Linked DNA regions of Homo sapiens: regions 1, 2, 3, 5, 6 and 7 are each linked to region 4. The links are contacts of gene promoters, found by promoter capture Hi-C in blood cells and fetal thymus (Javierre and others, 2016). All regions are on one chromosome and are shown on one strand. Each heading gives the region's core, a stretch centred on a gene start or on the middle of the fragment in contact. The rest is flanking DNA. Distances are from core to core; before and after follow the strand shown.

Region 1 (2,700 bases), core at 60-2,559, 170 kb before region 4:
GCTGCAAAAGGAGAGGATGAAATGCTGTAAAAGTAGGAAATGAAGTGGAAGCTGGAAGAAAATGTAATTGGTGGTACAGCTATGGGCCAGATGGTGGAGGGGAGGGTGGGGACCCCTGCCGGCAAGCAGAGTGTCACAGCTGGCTTTCCTCACTTGGGAAAAGGGTACTGCCGGTCTAGCAGCCTCCTCTGTACTCAGCCAGGACACCCAGCGCGTGGGACCTGTTTGTGTCTGTTTTGCTTCCTTGGGAACGGCACAGTCACTCACCCTGCCATTTGCGGAAATGACCTGGTGCACTTTGACTGTTAAGCAATGCGTTATTGCTGTAGTCAAGGTTAGTGCAAGCAAGGAAACATTCCCAGTAAGGTATTTGTTTCCATTTTCTGTCTGTGCTTCTGTCAGAAACTTGCTAGGACATTTAGTGGCCAATAAAAAAGAAATTCCTAATTTCAACCTTATCCAAGGATTGTGGGTTTTTACTTATTTGTTTGTCTCACCAGTTGAGAAACTCCAGTACTGGTCACCTATCCTGATAAATCTGCCTTTCAGAAAACCTGCAAGGGCTGTTTTTCACTATTATGGCAAGAGACATGTATTAAATGGAACAGAAAAGGTAAGTTACTCAAAACTGCCTTTGGGAGTCAGCAGAAACTGAAATGGCATCTAGACCTCCACTGTAACTGTCTTCATTTCAAAATAATAGGAAGGTGGCTTTGAGCTGAGATTCTAAAACAAAACCATTTCAAGATTGATCACCAGTGGAATCAAATTCATGTCATAGCTTTGGTTCTCAGGTTCTTGTCTCAAGAGTGGACATCTATGCTAGCCATCCATGTGTTCATTAATCACGGATGTCTTGGTTGGGACGCTCAGATGTATTCTTAGGTGTATCAGCTCTAGGTAAGAAAATATTTATTTTCTCAAGTTGCTGAACTTTTAATGATCTCTAACTTGTAAGTTCATATGTAAATTAGTCCTTACATAAAAATTATATTTCTTTATTTTGATATGGAGTCATGCGTGGACAGTAGCCCAAATATATATTTAGCCATCAGTCCATCCATTCATCCATCTATGTGTTCATTCATTCATTCTGTGGACATTGGTTGAGCAACTCCTCTAGGCAGAGTTCTGTTTTAGATGGGGCAAAGAAATGGATAAAACATTATTCCTGATCTTATAAGTTTATAATTTGGGAGTAGGAGGCTATGACAAACATACACAAATAATCAGTTAGACAAAAATGTTATGAGAGACACAAATAATGTGCTGTGGGACTACACAGAGAGGGGCAATAGACTCAGAGACGGTGGCACGAGAGTGGTTTCCACAAGAGTAGAGTTGCTTGGGATTTGTAAGCATTTACAGAATTTCATCAAGGATGAGTGAAGTCAGAAGACAGACTAGGAGATGAGGGTTAGGATGGCTGGAGAGGAGACTTGCTTGGGGTCTCCTGAGGAGTTGGCTTGGATGCATGGGGTTGAAGCAGGCACAGGGTTGTGAATGTCAGGCAGAGCAAAGCCTTGGGCCCAGCCACCGGAAGAAGCAGCTACATAGCTGCCTATTTTGACAGAGTTTTTTCAGCTATGTTGTCAAGGGAAGGTCTTTTGGTGGGTCTAGGACACAGTCATTCTCTGGAACCTGCTCTGATTCACATTGCCAAGATATTATTTCTGCCTTACTTGAAATCCAAACTTCTCTTGCCGAACTATATGTGTACATCCTCTTGCCTAATTCTCGGGAGAGGAGAGAGGCAGGAAGTCACTGTTCCCCATATGATGTTCTTTATGTTCTTAAAGATGAAGCTCTAGGCTGGGCGTAGTGGCTTACACCTGTTATCCCAGCAATTTGGAAGGCCCAGGTGGGTGGATCACTTGAGGTCAGGAGTTTGAGACCAGCCTGGCCAACATAGTGAAACATTGTCTCTACCAAAAATACAAAAATTAGCCAGACGTGGTGGTGCATGCTTGTAATCCCAGCTACCCAGGAGGCTGAGGCAGGCAAATAGCTTGAACTTAGGAGGTGGAGGTTGCCGTGAGCCAAAATGGAGCAGTGTGCACTCCAGCATGGGCAACAGCAAGACTCTATTAAAAAAAAAAAAAAAAAAAAAAAAGAGCTGTAGCCACTGTAGCCACTGATCTTTGAGAGTAAATGACTTGACCGGGCGCAGTGGCTCGTGCCTGTAATCCCATCACTTTGGGAGGCCGAGGCAGGCGGATCACGAGGTCAGGAGTTTGAGACCAGTCTGGCCAACATAGTGAAACTCTGTCTCTACTAAAAATACAAAAAATTAACTGAGTGTGGTGGTGTGTGCCTGTAATCCCAGCTACTCAGGAGGCTGAGGCAGGAGAATTGCGTGAACTCGGGAGACGGCAGTGAGCCGAGATCATGCCATTGCACTCCAGCCAAGGTGACAATGTGAGACTCCGTCTCAAAAAAAAAAAAAAAAAAAAAAAACAGGAAATGACTTTAAAGGCCCCAAATTTCATGGGAACTGCAAGAGTCAATCAGAGGAAACTATGGATAGAGTGTGGCAACTTCCAGGGCAACTCTGGTGATCTGCTGTTACAGAGGGGTTCACTCATTACAGCACGTGTCTGCAGAAAAATGGCAAGCAACACTATACATCACATGCTGGTTTTCAACCAGGGCGGGTATTTGGAAATGTGTGTGTATTTGCCAGAGAGGCATTTAGTGGCA
Region 2 (2,700 bases), core at 86-2,585, 210 kb before region 4:
GCCATATGCTGTTTTCCCCTGGAATTCATCCCAAGTCAGTATTTGACTAGGTCCAATGCTGCCAAATAACTGTTGGTAATGTACAGTTCACCCTTCCCTGCCTGGCTACAACATGTCCTACAGTCTCCAAACTAATATCTGGCAGCTCTGTGTGTATTTAGCAACTTACAGATTTCCCTGTATTGATTTACACAAGGGTTTATTTTTAAAATTAAAAAAATAGTAAAAACCCTAACATTTATTTATCAAACATTTATCAGATACCTACTCTACATAAGGCTCTGTGTCAGCTTTGGGAAAAATACAAAACATAAGATATTGTTCAGATATTTCGCATGAGAAGCAATGTGTGAATATCAGTAGTTGCATATGGTTCAACCTCAGATTGTAAGCCTAGAGTCAGAAGACCTAAATGGAAGTAAATGAAGCTCCTCCATTTACTAAATACGTTACCTTGAGCAAGTGTTTTAACTTCTTTCTTTTCAATAAAAAGAGAGATTGGCAAGAATGACTCTAAGATCCTTCTTTCAGGATGTTAAGATCTGACACTCACAACAACCCAATAAGCTAGGCTGTATTATTTTTCAACTGCTTTTTAGGAAACTAAGGCTTAGAGAGCTTAAGTGACTCAAGACCACCAGCTAAAAAAGTGGCCAAGCCAGCATTCTAGCCTGAGTTTATCCAGTTGCTATTCTTGTATCATTTCCAAACTGACTCTTCATAAACAGCAAATCAAAGAGGGGGCAAATCCAGGGAGAAAAAGAGATGCTACAGTGATAACTGGAAGCACACTGAAGGATTTTTGTGTGGAGATAGCTGCATATGGACAAGGGTTATGAAATCCTTTATCAATCATTCTTCACTGGGACAAAGCTAAGGTGAGCAGAACTCGACTGTCATCATTAAAGCTCACAACCACAGGCACTGAAAAGTAAGGAAAACACTAAGCTGGAACTGAAGTGCTCTTTTGATACCCACACTCCTCCCCACCACATAATTAACATTGTCTTCTAATAAAGGAGAGCATATTTTTCCCTTTTTTGAGTGTGTGGCTATGTGTCATCCTGGATATTCCGGCTACTCTAGCTGCTGTGGCTAGTGAGATATCATGAATTCTTTCACAGTTGCTCCAGGAATTCCTACGAAGACTGTGCTAAAAAAAAAAAATAATAATGTCAGATGGTTCAAGAGGTGGTTCTGCTGCTGACAAGGCCCCAGGGGGAAGCTTTCAGGATTCAGTGGCATGAAGTTGTTTTATTAGCCTCACTGTGTTAACAGCCCTCCTACAGTCCCAGCCCAGTGAGAGCCTATGTATGAAACCTTAAATCCTAAAGGGACCTTCCTTATAAGGGACATGTAGCACAGTCCAGTCACTTGATAGATGAGGCAAGTGACCCAGAAAAAAGAGGTTATTGCAATTAGTTACTGCACATTAGAATCACCCAGAAAGCTTTTAAAATCCTAATTCCCAAGTAACACCCCAAAAGAATTAAATCACAATGTTTGGGGTGAAAGCCAGGCACCACCATTTTTTAAAGACCTCCCACTGATTTCAATATGTAGCATTTTGCAATTAATGAGCTAATGGTTTGCCTAAGGTCATACATCTGGGGACAAGAACCTACCATGGTTCAACTCCATTGTTTTTAGCCAAAACTGGCCCTTGTCTTAAGACATCTTGAGAAATGGTGGAGGAATAAACAGTCAAGCCCTGCCATGATGATGCTATGCCAGGCACTTTCTTAGTTTATCTTTTGCAACCACTCTTCAAGGTAGATACATCAGCTCTAGTTCACCATGAAGAACGTGCATGTGTTTTCATGTAGCCTGTGGATCCTTGCTAAATGCGAAGGCAGGCTCTCTGAGACTGCCTCAGGGGGACTGCAGTGGTGCTCACTTTAGTTGTCGAACGTGCAGTGACATTCATTCAACAAGTGTTTATGGAAGGTCTACAGTGTGCCAGGCATTGTCCTAGGCTATGTGGATAAAATGATGATGAATGAGGTATATAAGGCTCTGTCCTCCCAGAGCTTGTTAGCTAATGAAGAACCCAAAGTCATAACTCAGCAAGTCCAAAATTTTAAGGTTAACACTGCGGTGGAAACTTGTTTTATTCATTTTCACTGAGCCTTGTTTCTTCAAGACTTGTGGCGGCAAAAACACACATAATGAAGTTGTTAGAATATAAATAAGAAACATAAATCAAGACTAGGGAATATATAAGTAAGAGTAGAGTCAAGAACAGAAGAAGAAAAATTTATAGTCATGCAAGTCATGAGGATCCACTTGGGCTGAACCTCAAATTTGGCATTAAGTATCCTGGCAGCCATATCGAAAAGGGAAATGTGGTTAGTTACAAAGTTCTTATTGTCAGAAAGAAAAAGAATACAAGTTCCTTAGGGAAGGAAAGGCTTTCCTAATACTTGGCTCTTGAAGGAATGTCTCAGGCAGAGCTTCATACAGCCTCTAACAATATTTCTACTAGTGACTACAAAAGTGGATTTTATAAGACATAGCTTGTAGCATCCTGCAGTAAAAGTGAGAACATAAAACTAAAGTGCAATTTAATAAATTCATTTATGTTAGGAGTAGGTGGTGAGAGGTAAGTTGATTTGAGCCAAATACAGGTTCAGGTGAACCTATGACTAGAAGCTGGAACACCAGGGAATGGAGGGATTTTATATCCTTATAACAATCTAC
Region 3 (2,768 bases), core at 99-2,598, 190 kb after region 4:
TTAGGTTTAATGTGGTGTTGAGTAAGAAAAGCCGTATAGAAATCTTGGAAGAAGTAAGACTCGAACTGGGGAGACAAGTTTAAAGAAAATGTACTTGGGATTAATAATGGCTCCCTAGAGATCAGTGTGGATGCAAAACTATGATATGAGCAGCACGTTTGCTGAAATTATTTTATGTGGTCTGAATAAGAGGTGAGCAGGAATGAAGCTTGCCAATTAGGGCAGACACCATTCCATGCAAACTTAGCTGGAGTGATTGTCCAAAGTGGGGAGGAATTCCCCCAGGCTGCAATGCTTTAAAAAAAAAAAAAAAAAAAAAACTAAGGGAAGATTTTTTCTAACATGGTGAAAAGAGATAAAAATTTTTTTAGAGAAAAGAAAAATGCAGTGCTAATAACTTCTGAAGGATAATAATCATGGGAGAACCGTCCAGCCACTTGGCTAAGTTGGGTAGTGGAGGTGGGCAGAAAGCATGATGGCACAGGCTGTGGTTTTCTGCACTTTCCATGGGCCTGGACGGATGACCCATGTTGTTATAGGGGAGGGGAGACACTTCTCTGCCAGACCCAAACTCACGTGAAGGTGAGGAAGACAGTCTGACACCCCTTCTAAGGTATAAAGTAGGGAATTTCCACTAAGGAACACAGGTCTACTGTTTCTGTTTTTTTTTTTTTTATTTCTTCCTTTCTGCCTGTTATAGCTTGCATGATTGTGCACAAAAATGTGTCCTTAGAATTGTTTTTCTTTATTGACAGAGATGTTACTCCTATTGTTTAGCTACCGTTTATTGAATGCTTACAGTATGCCAGGTTAGTCTAAGGTTTTTTTAATGCATCATTTCACTTAATTCTCTCAGCAATTCTTTGGAGTCAGTACTATTCATACTTCCATTTTAATTGCTGAAGAATTGGGTTCTTAAAGAGATTCAGAAACTTATCCAGCATTACTTACCAAGTCAATGACAGAGCCCACATCTGTTTGGGTACAAAGGCATGTGCTTCTAACAACTAAAACTTAAAGTCTCACTCTGAGGATTTTTTTTTAATTATCTTTTCAGAAGTCAGGGAAGGAGCAGTAGGAACCAAGCAAACAGACGAACAAAAAACGTCCAGCAGATATTCAGATATCTGAGTGGATTTGAGTGATGCATGTTTTTCTATTCAAAAAACGTAAAAACAGAACACACATATTTTAGTAGAAATCTTTTTCCTGTGTTTTTTCTGCCCTTTACAGGATGTGGGTAAAAAGTGACTCTCAATTCCCCAGAGTTTAGTGTCAGCCTCTCCAGTTTTAAGTTTGCTTTCTCTTTTGTGTGCTTCTTGCCTCTTTAGTATGGAAAGCCTTTATCTGCTGCCTTCTAATACCACATGCTTCTCTGCCAGAAAAAAAAAAAAAAGCAAATGTAAAAGAGCCATTGCTCAGGATTTGTCTATTTATTAGTGTTTCCTGAGCTCAGGACTGAGACCGCGAGGTCAAACCAAACTTTTCATCACAAGTGAGACCCTGGAGATTTGCCTTTTTATTTTTTATTCTTTGGCAGGTTTGTTGTTCTAAGGAACATAAAGGTCAAGGTAGAGGTATCCTGAGGCTAACTCCCTCTTACTCACTGCATTTGCAGTTGTACAAGACACAGATCCTGGACATTCTTCAAAATATGTACATCTGCCTTCAGAAAGGCTTCTCTTGGGCTGGTATGGGAGTGTGTAAATGCTGAGCTGTAGGGGAACTCAGCTCCCTTCCCTGATCTGTCCTGACCATGACCAAGTCCTCTGGGATCTGGATTCAACAGCTGGTGCTCTGAGCAGAGCTGCCTCAAGGAAAGCCTATTTCTGGAATGGTGAATATTAATATTTAATAGTCAAGGGCCTCTTAGTAAATCGTATGAATGCTGTGAACTCTCCTCCCCCCAAAAAATGCCCATCCTCGTGATGGATCGTGAATCTCTTGGAGCCCGTTGTTCCTTCCCTTCCTTCTTCCCCAAGGCTCAGAATCCCCTTCCTAGAGTTACCTCTCTCTCTCTTCAGGTCATCCTCTGAAAGGCCAACTCACTGGATGATTGCAATAGGATATGTGGTTGACATCGCCCCAATATTGCCCTTGCTTTGCAGAGCTGAGCCTCAGTGCTGGCTGAGGGGCTGCAGAGACCCAGAGGGTCTGCAAGGTTAGTCTGAGCTGAGGCCAGCACCTATCAATCAGGAATCTCCTCTGCTAAAATTCCTGTGAGACAGTATGGCTAAGGCTCTAGAAACAAACCAGTTAGAGAAATGTATTACTGTATCAGCACCCCAGGCAGAGAAAGGTGAACTAAACCTATATTAGGATATATGCTTCTATTCACTTATCAGCACATATTGCAAGCACACTACATGCCAAGCATGAGGTGCACGACCTTTATTTTTTATCAATTGCCATACAGTCTAGTATGTGCAATGATATTATATTGTGAAGATTAGAGTAGGGAACATTGTAGCTTGCTTTTAAAGGATGAGAAGCTTTCTCCGGATAGGCAAAGCAGTAGAAGCATATTTCTAGGATAAGAGAACAATAGGTATGAAACAATGGGTGTGAAATAGCACAATGTGTTCCGGGAGCTATAGTTGTTTGGTTTTGGGGCAGTTAATAGGGAGAGCATGTGGGGTAGAAGAGGAAAGTGGCCACATAATATGAGAGCCACATATTGTCAGAAGACCCTTTCTGGTGGTGCCAGGGAGCTCTTAAGGACTTAGCAGTAGCAAATCCAAGAATCCCAGACCTTTGGACCCCAGCTT
Region 4 (2,755 bases), core at 86-2,585:
AGGGCTGGACTAGATGTATGTTCCTCCTGCTCTGAGCTGTGAAGCGTCTAGGATGCCAGGAGAAAACCAGACCCAAGTCACAGGGTTCTAAACAAACCATACCTTAAATCTCTCAGTAATGGCCAGCCACATCTGCAAGAAGCAGGCTGGGAAAACAGCTGAAGAATAACAGATATTTGTTTTATTTGTCAATTATGGCTCAGTAAAGCTAAAAAAAAATAGATACTTCTGTTATCAAGAAATTATTGCACTTGATTCAAGGCTGATATTAAACCATAGCAGACTCACTCAAGGTGGGGGGTGAGAGAAACAAAGAGATTACAAAACTGAAAAGAGGTGTTCATTTGCAGAGAACTAAGGGAGTATCCTTCAAACAGAAACTGGAAGCCAGAGATCTCTGAAGATAAGGATCATGAAATGTTGTTATTCCCCAGACAGAATGTATCCCACGTTTTCCACCGGCGTTGTTTTTGGTAAAGAAGGGTAAGTGGAAGGAAGTGATGAGGCTGAAAAATACCATTTGCTTCAATTCAGCCGCGAAGGATCCGCTACCTTTTGGTTCCTATTAAGTGAATTTAGCTTTAGCTTTCATGATAGCATTTTCCCAAAGGAGTCCTTTAGATCTGACCCCTACCCTCTTCGCAGCTAGACTGACATCAGGTGACGTTGCAAGTGCCCCCAGCCCACTAAGCGCTATCAGTAGGAATTGGCCCTCAGCCCCGTCACAGCGCTTTCCCATGACATCCCCCAGCTTCTCTCTCCTAGGACCTCCTCGCCAGCCTACCCCTACCTGTTGGGTAGGTCTTACTTGCTGGGAACACCTGCTGTCCTTAGAATGGGAGCAACCAACGCCTTGGAATCCTGGCCTGTCCCTTCCTCGTGAAGGGGGCGCCTGCGCTCAAGTGCCGGCTTCGCCGCCTCAGGCAGAGTCTAGCAGGCGGGCGACCAGGCGTAGCTGAGTTCTGTGGCCTGGGGAAAGGGGACGCCCTATCCCCACAGCCCTGTTTCGCAGGGCTTCAAGACGCTGAGAACGGCCGGGAACCCCTGGAGTCTTGGAGGCACCCGCCAATTCCAGGGGCCCACCCCAACCCCGCTCTCAGTCTGGGCCAGCGGCGGCGGGACAGGCGCCCGGTCCCCACACACCGGCTGAGACGCCCAGCCCACTGCGGCTGAAGCTCCGGCCGCTGTTGCGGCAGGTGCTGCAAACCGGTCTGCCTTCGCTGCAGGGCTTGCGGGGATGGGGCAAGTGGGTGGAGAGAAAAGGGGAAGAGCCTGGGCGGCCGGCAGGCGGGGCCTGCAGCCTCCCCAGCCGCGGCAGCCGCCGCGCAGCCGGCTCTCTCTGCGCCTCGCTCCGACTCCGGCGCGCACCAAGCGGGAACCCGCGCCCGAGCCCGGCGGGCGCCGCTGCTGCTCCTCTCGGTCCCCGGTTCCCGGTCCCCGAACGCGCCGCGGCGAGGCTGCGCCCGGCAGTGGAGCCGCTCGGAGCTGCTGGGCTTTGGCGGCCGCTCGCTGCTCCGTCTGGCCGGAGGACCGGCGGGGAAGGAAGGGGAAAGCGGGGACACACACACTCGCCGCGGCGCGCGCGCACTGCACACTCGTAGCCGCGCGCCCCCGCCAAGGCGCGTCCGGAGCGAGTTTGGCCCCGCGGCTCCAGCCCCGGCACCTGCCCGCCCTCAGCGTTGCCCCCGGCCCCGGCCCCGCCCGCCGCCCCCTCCGCCCTCCCGCCCCTCCCGCCCCTCCCGCCCCTCGCCTGCACTGCTCTCCCTTCGCTGTGGGGAAGCGACAACGTCCCGATAACTTGCAGACTGTGGCGCAACTGGTCTTGGTAGCGGAGGCACCCGAATGCTGCCCGGGTGAGGTAAGTTTCCTGTGCGTCCCCGGCCCCTTCCCACTAGACCCTTCTGAGGGGCTTGCGCTTAGGGGCTCTGCATCTCTGCTGAAACCCGTCGGTCTCTCTACCCTTCCACTTTGCCTGTCTGCGTTGTGCTGGGGGTGACGTGGAGAGGGCGCCCGTGGCCACCGAAGCGGACCTTCGTTCCGCGGGGGCCACAGCTGCGCGCTCCCAACGGACACCCACCCGCTCGTCACCCGGATCCCCGGGGCCGCAGTGACACTCGGAGATCACTCTGGGTTCACTTAAATAGGAGTACTCTCCCCTTTTCCGGGGAACCTGCAGAGTTTGGCAGCGGAAGGAAAGGTCTCCCACCACCCTCCCCCGGTACGAAACAGCGGTGAACTTGTTAGGCGCCCTGGTATCTCAAGAGGGGCTTGCGAGTTGGTGTTCTGCTCATTTCTGGCGCTGGTGCCGGATTGAACAGGTGCGGTATGGTTCCAGTCTAAATGCAGCAACAGACTTCTGCGTTTCCCAGGCTTTCTCCCCCAGCCTGGTCAACGTGACGCTTCAACATCTGGGGCAGGGGCTGGGAGTGTAGGGGCACTGGGGAGGGAGAATGCCCGGGTTTGATTTACTATGCCGGTGCCAGGAGTCGCCAGAACAGAAGAAAACAAATGTCTGCTTATCTGGCATCTATGCAGATGAGCGTGTTGTCATTTCTTATCCCCCCCAACCCCCAGCTCTCTTGTCTGGTGCCCAGCGTGGCTGAGTAGAAACCTATTCCGGAGAAGTTATTTGGGTAGATTGATTAATTCTTTCATCGAATCTACTGAAATCAGGGCTCCGAACAAGGCAATCCTAGTTACTCTGATGCTTTTTTAAAGGGAGCGTGTTACAGATCAGAAATAACACCCACTATCA
Region 5 (2,700 bases), core at 47-2,546, 190 kb before region 4:
TGGCTTTGTAGAGCCATTCCAAATTACGTCAAAGAAATATATTTTGGGGTAAGATGCTTTGATTTCCTTCAGTGCCTGTTATCTGTCATCTGATGCTATATCAGGGTCAGGTTGGAATTTGGTATCTTACTGCTACAAAGAGTCTGTTCTGTCAGTCCTAGAATCTCTAAATGTCAACAGCTAAGCTCCAGAGAGGAGGATATATTGAGGCATATGCTACGCCCTTTTCCTGTTATGGCCTGAACTAGTTTTCGGGATCCTTTTGGCCAATGATTAGGGGCAGGGAGGAGATGTCCATTCAGTCAGTTTGGGGCTTAGAATTATATTTTTGGTTTATACCTGACATGTGAATAAATGTTCAATAAATGTTGATTGTCACTAATGTTATTGTTTTTGCCTTTTTTTTTTTTTTTTTTTTTTTTTAGATGGAGTCTCACTCTGTCACCAGGCTGGAGTGCAGTGGTGCAATCTCAGCTCACTGCAACCTCCACCTCCCAGGTTCAAGCAATTCTCCTGCCTCAGCTTCCTGAGCAGCTGGGACTACAGGCATGCGTCACCATGCCTGGCTAATTTTTGTATTTTTAGTAGAGAAGGGGTTTCACCACCATTATTTTTATTAATAATGGTATTGACTCATTTTCTTATCACATGAGGATAAAAGATTCCCAGATTACTTAGCAATTTGTTTTATAATGCAATTGACTTGTCCTTTTCCCTCCCATTAACATCTCAGAGACCAAACTGGATCTATGAGAAATGTCCCAAGAGAACTGACAGCTTCTAAAAACCTAGGTCTTCTCTGAGAGCTCCCAGGGCTCTCATGACATGGCATTTTAGATGTACCATGCTTTGTCAGAAGGTTCAAGGATGAAGTGGAGTTTCTCTACTTGTCTCTCCATTCATGGAACAAATTCACTGCCCTCCTGGCTTGGAGTAAGAGGTAGTGAGTAGGGGTTGTTCAATGATTTCATTTCATCCAAATAATGTGCAATCTGTTGGTTGTTCCAAGCTCTTTTACCAGAGAGAAAGGGCTTGAACACTGGAGTGGGTGTGTGATGAAAGGCAGGTTCATTGAAGAAAGGATGCCTGAAGTTTCTTTGACTAGCCAGGAGGCATGTGCTCTCTGGCTTCAAGGGATTAAACAGAAAAACTGGTCCCTTGGAGCAGGAGTCAAGTTTTTTCTGAATAGGCCCAGAGAGTAAATAGTTTAGGCTTTGCTAGCTGTATTAGTTTGCTAGGGCTGATATAACAAAGTACCACAAACTGGGTGGCTTACAAAGCAAGAACTTGTTTCTTATTCTGGAGGTTAGAAGTCTGAGATGAGTGTGTTGACAGAGCTGGTTCCCTCTGAGGGCTGTGAGGGAAGGATCTGTTGATCTGTTCCATGCCTCTCTTTTTGGCTCATAGATGGCTGTCTTTTCCCTGTATCTCTTCATTATCATCTTCCTTCTTGTGTGTCTCTGGGTCCAAATTTCCCCTTTTAATAAGGACACCAGTCATATTGGATTAGACCTCACCCTAATGATCTCATTTTAACATGAGTACCTCTGTAAAGGCCCCGTCTTAAAATAATGTCACATTCTGAGGTATTGGCAATTAGGACCTCAACGTATGCACTTATGGAAGACAAATTCAACCCATAATATTAGTCGTATGGTCTGTGTTACAACTTCTCAACTGCCACTGTTGCACAAAAGCCGCCACAGGTAATACATAAATGAATTAGTGAAGCTATATTCCAATAAAACTATAGGCACTGTAATTGACTTAAGATAATTTTAACATGTCACAAAATCTTATTTTTTTCCCAACCATTAAACATAAAAACCATTTTTATGGCTGCACCAAAACCAGGTGGTGGCCAGGGTTTGGCCTAAGGCCTATAATTTGTTGATCCTTGCCTTATAGGTTTCTGAATATGACACGTTATTTACAATTTCTGATTACATTCAGTACAGCATGTATCAACATGAGTTTGGGTAAACCATACACACTATAAATTTCAAAATTACATTTGTATTTGTGTATATTTGTATACATAGATGAATTGTGAAGTTTTAGGGAAAAAAATATCAAATCTCTCTGGAAATCTCCAGCATGAGGCTTCTGAGGTTGAACTCCATAGCTTTTGATTGCAACCAAACATGAAAGGGAAATGATTATGTTTGTATTCATGAAATCAAATTCCTTTTTCAGGTCTTTTGTTTCTTGTCAGAAGGGTTCTTCATTTTTCTTTTTAAAGCAATTGCTTACACATGATTTTCAGAAGAGCAGCACTATGTCAGAAGAAAAGGGAAAAACGTTAAGAAATAAATGGGATGAAAAAAGAAAAGTATGAATATGAGCCCTGGTGAATTCTTACAAAGAAAGGGAAGCAAACACGTGACATTCAGTAGTGACCCCAAGCCAGGGAGTGCTGTGACATTGCATGTCCCTGTGAATGGGGCTTCCGGGAGCTGATAACAAGGTTCTAGTGCATTTCAGTCACATTAACAGTGATCCTCAAACCCAGTCTCCAAGGAACCTCACCCCATTTCCCTAGGAAGTAGCAATTCTGTTGTTTTTATTCTTTCTTTCTTTGCTTTTAATTATATTCTTGGGAATTACAGTCAGGACAGTCAGTGTGGTGTTTAACAAAAGCTAAGATACTTTGATGATATACTGAGATTTCCCAGTTATACATTTTAGACTGTCTTTGAC
Region 6 (2,700 bases), core at 104-2,603, 170 kb after region 4:
CGCCATGAAGCAACATCCATTCTGTATGATGCCTCCATTAAGTATTATGCCCACTCCTTTTCATTTTCTCTGTTTATACAAATATAATTTCTTGATTATCCCATGTAGGTAAGCCTGCCTCACAGTTGGCCCATACTTCTCCATGTCTTAATATGGCCCAAAGATAGCTAGATTTAATTCTTTTTCATGGAATGATTTAGTGGTTTTTTTGAATGACCAAATACCTGTTATTATTTCTGTATGCCTAAGGAAATAAATGTTCCCCTTCTCTACCTGAAGCTGCTCTGCTGTGTGTACATGAGCATTCTTGTGTGTATGGGTGTACGTGTGTCTGTGTGTCTGTCTCACCTCCAGGGAAACCTAACACTATCGTTTTATACCATAACTGAATAAATCACAGCAGTCAGAGAGATGTGAACCCAAGGAAAATTATTATAATTAATGGAAACTTCAGGGAAAGATGAATAATCCAAGGAGCTCAGAACTAACCCAAAATGAAAATAATAATAGTAAATGCAGCATCCTCTCTGATAAAATCTTGGGCCCAAAACTGCAACAAAATGAGAAACTCCATTTAGGTGGAACATGGGTGTTTTATCTTACCTCTTTGAATGTTGAAGGAAATCTGCTCCAGTAGAATGAGTTACTTTGTATGGGATAGAAGGTGAAAAAGAGAGAAGAAATTGGCAACACTCTTAGCCCACTGAAAGCAGCCTGCTTCAGAACCTAAGGCCTTGTGGTTATTTTTACTCGCTTGCAAAAGTGAGGAAGGATGTTATAGGTCTCTTTGAGCCTCTTTGCTTTTACCCTTTATTTCTATATGATCTACATTTATATTAATAAATTATTACATGCCATATAAGTTCCAGAATCATTCCTTTTGACAGTCCCATGGGATTTAATCCCCTCCTAAATCCCAAAATATAGAAAGAGAAAATGTTTGGGTACAGCACTGGGGCATCATGCATACTGAATATTCAACAATAACCATTTGAATGAGTGGATGATTTGGGGGTCATTCCTTACTATGTGACTGCTCTTCTCTCAGGCAGTCTTAGTCCCTGTGTCACTCTCCTAGTGTGTAGCCGGGCTGCTGCCTGAGTGTAATCCTAGCCTTTCAAGATAACCATTTATTATATGGTGCTGACCCCTAACAACACAAGCCAGCTCCATCCTCTGGTACTCAGCAAAAAAAAAAAAAAAAAAAAAAAAAAAAAAACAGTCATCTGTAATCGTGCAGGAGGAAAAACTAGTTGCGTTGGTTATATTGAATAGATACTTCCTAAATAGTTTTCAAGGGTGACCTGTGACTATGCTGAATTTCTGCCTTACATATTGATTTTCTAATGTAAATTCCATGTAATAATCAAATCTTCTCTGTTAACATTATGTTGAAGACTCATTCCTTCACTCAACAAATACTTATTGAGTGTCTGCTATGTGCCAGGCATTGATGCAAGAATCTGATTGATCTGAACAACTTAAACTATAGTAGATCCAAAGTGTTTATTCTGTGCTGAAAGCCTTTGTCATTTGCCCAGTCCTTTTTGTGTGGTATCCATAAAAAGCAGACCATGATAAACTTGCATAGGCTCTCAATGTCCCACCTAGAATGTAGATCAAAGGGATTTTGAACCTTTACATAAAATTCTATTGCATTGTTCTAATTTTTCTGAAAATTTTAAGAACAAAAACACTGAAAAATTTAAGAATGAGTGGCTTAGGTGGTTTGACTGAGCTCATGTATTAGGTAATATTGTATGGAGTCAAAGAATAAAAAGGATGAGATTGATAAACATCAACATTTAGGCCAGTGGATCCCTCTATGGATCTGAGCAGTAAAAAGTACAGAAGGGGCTTCAACTGTATGGATAATGTTTTATGTCTTAAGCAGCATTTTGGATTCATTGATATTCACTGGTTTATTCTTTGTACATTTTATATATCATAAATATTGTGTATAATTTTTCAAAATGAACCCAGAAAAAGGAAAAGAAGATAATGATATATTGAGGAATGGAAATCAGGTTTTAAATTTTTTAAATATGTAAGGTCTCCTTTTTTGGAAAATGTAAATAAAAGAGTTCAGATTGGGGTCCTATTCCATGTGATGGTTCTCTCTGTTGGTAGGATGTTTTAAGAATTATTTCACTTATCCCTGGTTAACAATGTTTGTCAAATATCCAAAATTCGTGGTTAAAAAAATGCATTTTTGAAATTGCTCCACACTCTAAGGCCTAGATCTTTTACCCAAAGCATTACAATGTGGTTACACTGGTGATAATGGAGTGATCTTCCCAGGAAGAAGGCACAAGGGGATAAATGAATTTTCAGGCATGTGACACTGATTGACAGGGAAAGCCTGCACGGAGTGACCTCACTAACTAACGTCTTATTCTGCCTGGTTATCATTGGCCTTTATGACATGAACTTTGAGAAACCCGCTCTCAGGGGATGATTTTTCTAGAGATAACATTGGCCCAGGACTAATAGAGCTACAATTTGCGGTCAAAATTGTCCTTGCTAATGTGTTCTTTCTTTCTCTCTCTTTTTAATATTTTGACTTCAGCGAAGGGAGCAATCTGACCCCAGCACATCACTACCCAGACTTTAGATTTAAGACATACGCTCCATTAGCATTCCGATATTTCAGAGAACTTTTTGGTATCAAGCCTGATGATTACTTGGTAAGAACCTGTC
Region 7 (2,700 bases), core at 83-2,582, 250 kb before region 4:
GGGCTGCCCTTCCCTGCTGAGTTCAGAGCTTAGTGCAAACTAGGACCTGGAGGAGGGGTATCTCTGCTTCCAAGGCATCACCTTCCAACATCTCCTTTCTCAAGGCTCTTTGGACAAGACATCTTGCTGGGAATCCTTGATGTGAGTTAAAAGCATTTAACATAGTCCTTCTTCTCCCTTGCTCTTCAAAAGTGTTCAGTAGGAGTAAATTCCCTTGGACCCCACCACTATCATAGTCCTATGAAGAAAATATTGGTTGGTAAATCTTAGCCAGCATTTTCCCATGTGTGCTGAATGAAACCACCAACTCCACAAGGTGCTCTGTGTAAATGTGAGAAATGTATACTCTACCCTCTTTGTGAAGTTTTACAATGAAATGAGCATTTGGTTTTGAAATATCCTGCCAAAGTAGAGAGTCCACTTTTACCATAGTCTCTTACCTTTTCATAATAAATTTATAGCACTGGACTTGGTAAATTAACATATAAGGTTATTAACCTTTTCAGCCAACCCTTTGTATGTAATTCCTTTGGAAATTCATCCACCATCGCTTAATTTTATCTTAAACTTTCTGGTTTGGTTTTGTTTTTTGAGACAGGGTCTTGCTGCTGCCCAGGCTGGAGTACAGTGGCATAATTATAGCTAACTGCAGCCTTGAACTCCTGGGCTCAAGCAATCCTCCCATCTCAGCCTCCCAAGTAGATGAGACTACAGGTGCACACCACCACAGCTGGCTAATTTTAGTATTTTTTCTTTTTTTGAGCCAGGAGTTTTGCCTAGGGTGGTCTCAAACTCCTGGGCTCAAGCTATCCCCCCTCCTTGGCCTCCCAAAGTGTTGGGATTACAGGGGTGAACATGCTGTAATCTCCCTCCTTATCTCAAACTTTCAATCATCCCATGTATTTGCTTCCACTGGTATTTTAAGACCAAGTTCTGGAAGCACCTTTATATTAATGTAGGAGGAGTCCATGTTCTGATGGGCCCCATGAAGTTTGCATGAAATGAGCAAGTGTCTTTAAGCACTTACCTTCAAGAGACTAACGGATTAGAGAAGGAGTTAGGTGTCCCAGCATCTAAGGCAATATCCTGTGCTGAGTGTCTAACTCCTGGGGTTTGCAGTGGCAGTACAAAGAGAGGACTGGCCAGATAAACCTGGAAAGTAAGGAAGCGGCCTAAGTCCAGGAGGGGGTGGATGAAGAGTGTACTGGTGTCTTTCATTTTCCTTCAAGACCTCCACTCCATCTCTTTCTCTCTGCTCCCCGTCCTGTAGACTGACCTATAGGGACTATCAAGAGATCCCCACCCTTCCCTCCAGATTTTAGTTGGGCTTGGGCAATTGGGAGCACTGCAGTTACTAGACAGAAGGAGGAGAATGCAAGCAGGGATTTCTTTCTCTCCCTATAGGATTTCCATAGGCTGGAAACATGACTCTTCTGAAGGTCAAGGTTCCTGCCAAGCAGCCCTATCCACACAGATCTGTCCCTGGATTTCAGTAATGAATCTAGGGATGGGACGCTGGTAGCCCTGATGTTACTTGCCCTCTCCACTAGCCACACCTGTGTAAACAGTTCCTGTATTAAACTCTCAAACTACTCAGTTTTGAGTGTGCCATCAATTCTGTTGGGGACCTCATTGATACAAGGAGTATCCCTACCTAAGTGAACGATGTGTGCAAAGAACTGAAGTGGCCTGGTGCTTGAAGGGGGCTCCATCTCAAAAATAGTTTGTTATGGCAGGATGATGCCGCAGTAGGAGAGTTCATGAGGCCGATCACTCTTGCCGATGCCCACGGAGTGCTCTGGGGATCCAGGGCTCCCAGGCCTCATCGCATTTAGTCCCCACTGAGTAAGGAGACATATTATCATTCCATTTTGTAGGTAAAAGATCCAGGCTTATGGAGGTTAAGTAACTTGGCCAAGGTTGCACTGCAAGAAGGGGTGGAGCTGCGTGGGGACTGAGAGTCCCTACTCTCCTCCGTGCTAAGACATTAAACTGGATTCCACAGGCAGCGCATGTTTGCCTGCCTTTCCTGCTCACTCAGCCTTAGCTTTTGCTGTAAAACTCTCACGTCCCACAAAAGAACATTGACCTTTCCAATATTCCCTTTCCTCGTAACTATGTGTCATTAAACTGAAGTGTTTCTTTAAAAGACATTAGAGCAGAATTAGTATGGCATGACCTTTCCTTATGCTTCCTGATAAAATTAAACTCAAACCTGGGTGACCGAAGGAAACCCTGGGAAGGTAAATGCAGTCTTGAAGATGGTTCCTTTCAGGCAGGGTGGCTGCCTGTGCATCCCTTGATATATGCTCGTCTTCTCGGAACCATGCAGAGAGAGCTGCCTGTGACCTGATTTGGCTTCATAGGAAACAGCAACCTGCGTCATCCATTGGGTCACAGATCAGAGTTACACGATGAAATGAAACAGGTGGAATGTGGTGTTCAATCCATGGTATTCTGAACCCACCATGGACAGCTGACACTCACATTCCCAAAGGGAATGCAAAGTTTTGCATGTTGCCCTGCTCAGGGCATCTCCGCCTGGAATCGGTAGAGTTTTGGCCCTGAGAGATATTAATCTATTGTCCAAAAAACAGGAACTCCCTAAAGAGAGCCAAAAATAAGAACCATACCCAGGACTGATGAATTCTTTTCTGTGATATTGGTGGACAGGTTAGCAGGAGAAAAGGAAGGGGAAAT

What was found. The method cuts DNA at HindIII sites, captures the fragments that hold promoters and counts their contacts. A CHiCAGO score of 5 or more calls a contact.
Region 1: a contact is called between a fragment that was not itself captured here and the fragment with the promoter of PIP5K1B in region 4, in 1 of 17 cell types (total B cells). The highest score is 6.4, in total B cells.
Region 2: a contact is called between a fragment that was not itself captured here and the fragment with the promoter of PIP5K1B in region 4, in 2 of 17 cell types (naive B cells and total B cells). The highest score is 5.3, in naive B cells.
Region 3: a contact is called between a fragment that was not itself captured here and the fragment with the promoter of PIP5K1B in region 4, in 5 of 17 cell types (total B cells, naive B cells, megakaryocytes and 2 more). The highest score is 15.1, in total B cells.
Region 5: a contact is called between a fragment that was not itself captured here and the fragment with the promoter of PIP5K1B in region 4, in 2 of 17 cell types (naive B cells and total B cells). The highest score is 8.1, in naive B cells.
Region 6: a contact is called between a fragment that was not itself captured here and the fragment with the promoter of PIP5K1B in region 4, in 5 of 17 cell types (naive B cells, total B cells, erythroblasts and 2 more). The highest score is 10.9, in naive B cells.
Region 7: a fragment that was not itself captured here is called in contact with the fragment with the promoter of PIP5K1B in region 4 in 1 of 17 cell types (neutrophils); the score reaches 7.1 in neutrophils.

The regions. Positions count from the first base shown.
Region 1 is chr9:68,530,604-68,533,303 of GRCh38, forward strand. PGM5 (phosphoglucomutase 5) reads left to right here. Exons shown (of 11, transcript NM_021965.4): 11 at 1-458. Among named protein-coding and RNA genes, the nearest start is that of TMEM252, 8.9 kb to the right of the region's middle. The HindIII fragment of the contact is 3,321 bases long and covers 1-2,700 here.
Region 2 is chr9:68,493,068-68,495,767 of GRCh38, forward strand. The region is part of intron 9 of PGM5 (phosphoglucomutase 5); the gene reads left to right. Among named protein-coding and RNA genes, the nearest start is that of TMEM252, 46 kb to the right of the region's middle. The HindIII fragment of the contact is 225 bases long and covers 1,224-1,448 here.
Region 3 is chr9:68,894,968-68,897,735 of GRCh38, forward strand. The region is part of intron 8 of PIP5K1B (phosphatidylinositol-4-phosphate 5-kinase type 1 beta); the gene reads left to right. Among named protein-coding and RNA genes, the nearest start is that of PABIR1, 120 kb to the left of the region's middle. RefSeq lists an enhancer at 1,182-1,331. The HindIII fragment of the contact is 2,284 bases long and covers 207-2,490 here.
Region 4 is chr9:68,703,905-68,706,659 of GRCh38, forward strand. It overlaps PIP5K1B (phosphatidylinositol-4-phosphate 5-kinase type 1 beta), which reads left to right and starts at 1,336. Exons shown (of 16, transcript NM_003558.4): 1 at 1,336-1,858. RefSeq lists enhancers at 850-1,775, 2,464-2,553 and a silencer at 1,194-1,713. The HindIII fragment of the contact is 6,803 bases long and covers 1-2,755 here.
Region 5 is chr9:68,511,148-68,513,847 of GRCh38, forward strand. The region is part of intron 10 of PGM5 (phosphoglucomutase 5); the gene reads left to right. Among named protein-coding and RNA genes, the nearest start is that of TMEM252, 28 kb to the right of the region's middle. The HindIII fragment of the contact is 3,051 bases long and covers 1-2,700 here.
Region 6 is chr9:68,874,108-68,876,807 of GRCh38, forward strand. PIP5K1B (phosphatidylinositol-4-phosphate 5-kinase type 1 beta) reads left to right here. Exons shown (of 16, transcript NM_003558.4): 6 at 2,570-2,687. Among named protein-coding and RNA genes, the nearest start is that of PABIR1, 95 kb to the left of the region's middle. The HindIII fragment of the contact is 7,190 bases long and covers 1-2,700 here.
Region 7 is chr9:68,452,768-68,455,467 of GRCh38, forward strand. The region is part of intron 6 of PGM5 (phosphoglucomutase 5); the gene reads left to right. Among named protein-coding and RNA genes, the nearest start is that of TMEM252, 87 kb to the right of the region's middle. The HindIII fragment of the contact is 7,166 bases long and covers 1-2,700 here.